2 separate regions of the Homo sapiens genome follow, and region 2 is linked to region 1. The links are contacts of gene promoters, found by promoter capture Hi-C in blood cells and fetal thymus (Javierre and others, 2016). All regions are on one chromosome and are shown on one strand. The core of a region is centred on a gene start or on the middle of the fragment in contact, and the rest is flanking DNA. Distances in the headings are between cores, read along the strand shown. Region 1 holds the start of SCML4 (Scm polycomb group protein like 4). Region 2 has its middle 24 kb from the start of BEND3.

Evidence for each region. Contacts are between HindIII fragments. The CHiCAGO score rates a contact against its expected background, and 5 or more counts as called.
Region 2: a fragment that was not itself captured here is called in contact with the fragment with the promoter of SCML4 in region 1 in 1 of 17 cell types (erythroblasts); the score reaches 5.1 in erythroblasts.

What each region holds. Positions count from the first base shown.
Region 1 is chr6:107,822,869-107,825,896 of GRCh38, forward strand. SCML4 (Scm polycomb group protein like 4) reads right to left here and starts at 1,445. Exons shown (of 8, transcript NM_198081.5): 1 at 1,258-1,445. The HindIII fragment of the contact is 8,468 bases long and covers 1-3,028 here.
Region 2 is chr6:107,138,323-107,141,395 of GRCh38, forward strand. No RefSeq gene overlaps it. Among named protein-coding and RNA genes, the nearest start is that of BEND3, 24 kb to the left of the region's middle. The HindIII fragment of the contact is 1,871 bases long and covers 668-2,538 here.

The DNA of each region.
Region 1 (3,028 bases), core at 195-2,694:
ACAGCCCCTCATTTTATCAGACTAGTTCTACCAAGCAACACAAAAAATGCTCCACACAAATATTATACCCCCCAGATAGTTTAACACACTAAGAATTCCTTTGTAGTTATTTTTATGCTTTCACTCCAGATATTCTATTTTGCTTTAAAAAAAAAAAAGTGGAGAAAAAAAGCAGCTATATCCCTCATTCTTCAAAAATGGTTCCTCTGGTTGAAAAGAAAGAAAAACAGCATATAACAAATACCCTGATTCTGAAGTGCCTGGATTACTTTCTCAAGTACTGTAGTGTCTGAGATCAGTAAAAAACCACTTTCTCAGAAAGCCACTGATTGTCTAACCCTCATGAGTACCGTCATGGAATCTAGAGACAACACGAGGAGACACCTCTCGTTCACGATCACAGATAGTGGAAAGAACTTTGACTCAAGCACCTCAACTCAGCAAAACAGCTCAGCAGCCTGCACCCTGGCCTCATCCACCGCTCCTGTCCAGCCAGCAATCAACCTGGAGAGGACCCCTCATGCTTTGGGAGGAGCACGTGGAAGCTGGTTCAAGTCACAGTGCTCCACCTGGGAAGGAGGTGATTTTGAGCTTGGGAAAACTGCCGCTAATACTCCATAGTCACCAGTTTTTTTCCCAAAAAACGAATTAAAACCAGAAACTAGCAGTAAATATTATTCTTATTTATGCCTCATAAATTAGGAAAAACCAGCACAAAGACATGTGAAATATTCTACCTGGGATATTTGAAATAAAATTAAATGGGAAAAAAAACACTTTTACATGTTCATAACATACCAATTTTAATAACCAAATTTTAGGTAAATATTTTTATCCCAAGACATAGTACAATTTTTTTAAAATTAAAAAGCAAAACAAAGCAAAATTATCGTGAAGGGAAAAAATAACTAACCGGTTACTTGAGTTCACATTTGGAAAAAAATAACTTTCTAGGTATTTAAATGCAGAGTTAAAGAGTAATGAACATGTATATAGCCCAAATTTATAAACTATATAATTCAATGTTACATTTTCCCCTCTGAGATCTGGTTAATAAATTAAATGCTGTACTTTGCATATGAGGAACTAAAGTTTACCTACTGGACTCAGTGGTTTTAGTGCAGGACACTCTTGTGCGTTGCCATAGAGGTAGGCATGCAACCCAGAAAAAACTGAAACAGGTAACCTGTCATGCTGACAGTTACAAGAGAAAGATCCCGTGTCAACGGCACGCCTCCAATTGTGCATCTCCCTTACCTACAGCTTGTTCACCAGAGCCCTGAGCAGGTTGTTTACCAGGTCGGGAGTGTTGACTCAGAAGACAGATGACTTTCAGCACATGCAAACCGAGTATTGCAAAAGCTATCTTCCACCCGTGTTAGTAGCTCACAGTTAGTCTCCAGCAGCCCTGCGCTCCAGCTGCAAACATCTCATTAGACTAATGCATTCAGCACAGGCAGAAAACTCGATTTACCATAGCTACAGCAATGAATTTCCATTACGATGACAGCTTCAACCACATCATGTCCGGAAAACCAGCCAACCACTGGCTTTTAAAGAACACACACATTTTACATGCAGAAAACGAGGCCTCTGTGTGTGTGTGTGTGTGTGTGTGTGTGTGTGTGTGTGTGTGTGTGTGTGTGTGTTTTGTGTTTCCTTCCTCTTAGCAGCCTAAGAGAAATGTGCAGTGTAGCTTTTTGTCGACATGAGCTGCAAGGTAATGACACTTCTGCTTCTTTGGTAGTTACATCCTTGTAATAACCTGAATTATGTCACAATGGTTAGAATGGGTGTTTCCAACATTTCAGTTTTCATTACCCCTCCTCTGTTGCCATAGAAACCAGACTGTAACATCGTCTCTTTGTCCCAATCCTGCAGCAGTGTGGGCCAACACCAGGCTTATAAGACACTGGTGATCTGACAGAGTGAATGTTTGACTTTGGACAAATAAAACAAAAAGAAATATTACAATAGCATCATTGTTCAGGAGACCCTGTGTGATTCCCAGAGCAGTGTGCCTATCCAGGTGTGTGCACACACCATGGTTGTACATATTAAATCAGCGGCTGCCCACAACATATGTGTACAGTTCATTAAAGCCGGCCCTGACTTTGGCTCCAGGCCTGTATGTGTGTGTGTGTAAGCATCTCTACCCACCTCAACGTGGTGGGACCTGCACAGGATAGAAACAGGGCAAGAGTGACTATTCATTCCCATGCCCCATTGCATTTTCTGCAGCAAATCAATATATATCGGCGAAGGGATCTTTTCTTTTCCTTTCTTTTTGTAAAGTGGAGCAGGGCTCCCCATTGCCCATTTCATCCACTCTGGGATATTGGCATATTCACAGGTATTTCCTACAAGATGAAACATCCATTCTACAAACATGTGGCTTACTCCTAGGGATGAGCAGCAAACAAATTTAGCCGGGACTAAATATCAACCAGGGCTAACGAAGGCTTAGGCCACAACCTGGCCAGTTACTGAGAGTGAAAAAAACTGCAATGGACAACTTGAGGTTTCTCTAAATATATGTGTAGAGTCACATTAGAAGTACATAAGAAATCTCTCCTCTGAAATTTATTATGAAAATATAAAAAATTGTTTTAAGTCAAAGCCTTGTAATTAATTGAGCAAGAAGAAATTCACTACTTTAGTTCATTTAATCATCAAATTTTGTTGTTTTGTATGGGAAAAGGCAGGTTTGGTAGTTTGCATTTTCATTTCATATAAGTTGATTTCACTAAAGAAGGAGGAAGAGGAGAAGAAAAGAAAATAAGATGGATGGGCCAGGTGCAGTGGCTCATGCCTGTAATCCCAGCACTTTGGGAGGCCAAGGCGGGTGGATCACGAGGTCAGGAGATCGAGACCATCCTGTGAATGGTGAAACCCCGTCTCTACTAAAAATACAAAAAATTAGCTGGGCGTGGTGGCGGGCGCCTGTAGTCCCAGCTACTTGGGAGGCTGAGGAGGGAGAATGGCGTGAACCCGGGAGGCGGAGCTCACAGTGAGCCGATACCGTGCC
Region 2 (3,073 bases), core at 353-2,852, 680 kb before region 1:
AATGGTGCGATCTTGGCTCACTGCAACCTCCGCCTCCTGGGTTCAAGCAATTCTCCTGCCTCAGCCTCCCGAGTAGCTGGGATTACAGGCATGCACCACCATGCTTGGCTAATTTTGTATTTTTAGTAGAGACGGGGTTTCTCCATATTGGCCAGGCTGGTCTCCAACTCCTGACCTCAGGTGATTCACCCGCCTCGGCCTCCCAAAGTGCTGGGATTACAGGCGTGAGCTACCGTGCCAGGTCCTGTCCTTTATGTTCAAAGAAGTCTCTAGACCTATTTTATAACCTGTATTCTTCTGATTAGAGTTTGTAAACCAGTGTTCCTTTACTATTACTCTATTTTACTTGCTTGCTTCATTGTTTTTTTTTTTTTTTTTTTTGAGATGGAGTCTCGCTCTGTCGCCCAGGCTGGAGTGCAGTGGCGCGATCTCGGCTCACTGCAAGCTTTGCCTCCCGGGTTCATGCCATTCTTCTGCCTCAGCCTCCCGAGTAGCTGGGACTACAGGCGCCCGCCACAACGCCTGGCTAATTTTTTGTATTTTTTTTAGTAGAGATGGGGTTTCACCATATTAGCCAGGATGGTCTCTATCTCCTGACCTTGTGATCCGCCCGCCTCGGCCTCCCAAAGTGCTGGGATTACAGGCATGATCCACCGCGCCCAGCCTAAGCTTCATTGTTATAAAAACACATTTCCTTTAACAGCATTTATCGAATGGCACCCTCTGTGGTAGGTACAGTGATTGGTGCCTTCAGGCAATTAGCAGCTATTCTTTACTAGTAAGCACGACTATCCAATTCCACAAGAAAGGAAGAAGAAACCTGGAGAATTTGTCTCATCACACCTGATAGATAAGCTAGGATTTGAGGTTTTTTTGTTTTGTTTTGTTTGTTTTTTTTGAGACAGTCTCGCTCTGTTGCCCAGACTAGAGTGCAGTGGCTGGATCTCTGCTCACTGCAACCTCCGTCTCCCAGGCTCAAGTGATTCTCGTGCTTCAGCCTCCTGAGTAGGTGGAACTACAGGCGTACGCCACCACGCCCAGCTAATTTTTGTATTTTTTGTAGAGATGGGGTTTCACCATATTGGCCAGGCTGGCCTCGAACTCCTGGCCTCAAGCGATCCACCTGCCTCGACCTCCCAAAGTGCTGGGATTACAAGCATAAGCCACCACGCCCAGCCAAGAAGCTAGGATTTGAACCCAGATCTGTTTATTCCATTGGTTATCTTCCACTATTTTCAAAGAGAATCTGATCCCAAGAAGCCCACAGTATAGTGGGAAAGACACAAATAATCTCATTCTATGGTTTACCTTTGTATCCAAGGCAGTGCTATGCACATAGTAACACTTAATAAATGTCAATGAAAAGAAGGCATTAACTTATCCTGGTTTCTTACTTCTTTTTCTTTTTTTTTTTTAGATGGAGTCTCACTCTGTCACGCAGGCTGGAGGGCAGTGGCGTGATCTCGGCTTACTACAACCTCCGCCTACAGCCTCCGGAGTAGTTGGGACTACAGGCACGTGCCACCATGCCCAGCTGACTTTTGTTTGTATTTTTAGTAGAGACAGGGTTTCACTGTGTTAGCCAGGATGGTCTCGATCTCCTGACATCATGATCTGCCCGCCTCGGCCTCCCAAAGTGCGGGGATTACAGATGTGAGCCACCGCGCCCGGCCTCTTATTTTTCCGTTGATGGTTTCTAAGTCAGGGGAATCACAATCTGGTAAAATAAAGAAGCAAAGAGGATTGTTAAGGAAACACAAATTTGAGCCGGGCGCGATGGCTCACGCCTGTAATCCCAGCACTTTGGGAGACCAAGGCGGGCGGATCACCTGAGGTCAGGAGTTCGAGAGCAGCCTGACCAACACGGCGAAACCCCGACTCTACTAAAAATATAAAATTAGCTGGGCGTGGTGACGCATGCCTATAATCCCAGCTACTTGGGAGGCTGAGGCAGGAGAATCGCTTGAACCTGGGAGGCGGAGGTTGCGGTGAGCTGAGATTGCACTCCAGCCTGGGCAACAATAGCAAAAACTCCATCTCAAAAACAAACAAACAAACAAACAAACAAACAAACAAAAAAACAAAAAAAGGAAACACAAATTTGGAGACAAAATAGAAAGAGCCTATGTCACACAGTGATTTTCTTCCTCTGCACAGTTACTATAACAGGTCATCAGTCACTTTGCAAAAACGTCCATTATAAATCAGGGCTACTTCCATTTTGTACTATTTATCTTTCTAATGTATTTAATAAAAACCCATTAAGGAATATAAAAATATAATTTTAGTATTATTTTCTCCTTCCTGTAATCAGTTTTATAACGCTGATGTTGAACATAACGGAGCAAGCAACTATATGTAACTGTAGAAATTATTGCTAGGAATTTGCATATGAAATACACACCTTTTACTGCCTTTAGTTGGCTTTGTTAACTAGGTTATAAATAGTACAGTTGACATACCAGAAACGGAAAGCACTTTTTGATGAGCACATGCTATGAATGGAAGAAGTGTTCAAACACAGTGTTTAATTTGGAAAGCTTTCATTAGAACTAGCTAAAGGGGAAAGTGGTTTATTTCCTAATCATAGCCTTGCTTAATAATCCAATCATATAGAAAGACTTATGGAAAAGCTTTCTAAAAACAGATATTTATGCTACAATTTGGGTAAACAAGTGATACATCTAGTCTATAAACATATGTTGATGGTGTTGGTGGTCACTTTTAAGAAAATTGAACTTTGGGAGGTCGAGGCGGGTGGATCACGAGGTCAGCAGACCAAGACCATCCTGGCCAACATAGTGAAACCCGTCTCTACTAAAATTACAAAACTTAACTGGGTGTTGGGGCATGCGCCTGTAGTCCCAGCTACTAGGGAGGCTGTGGCAGGAGAATTGCTTGAACCCAGGAGGTGGAGGCTGCAGTGAGCGGAGATCGCACCATTGCACTCCAGCCTGGGCGACAGAGCGAGACTCTGTCTCAAAAAAAAAAAAAAAAGAAAGAAAAAGAAAAAGAAAATTGAGCAGTTTGGATTAAATATTAAATAATTTCCCTCTGTGTATATGTGGAGAGG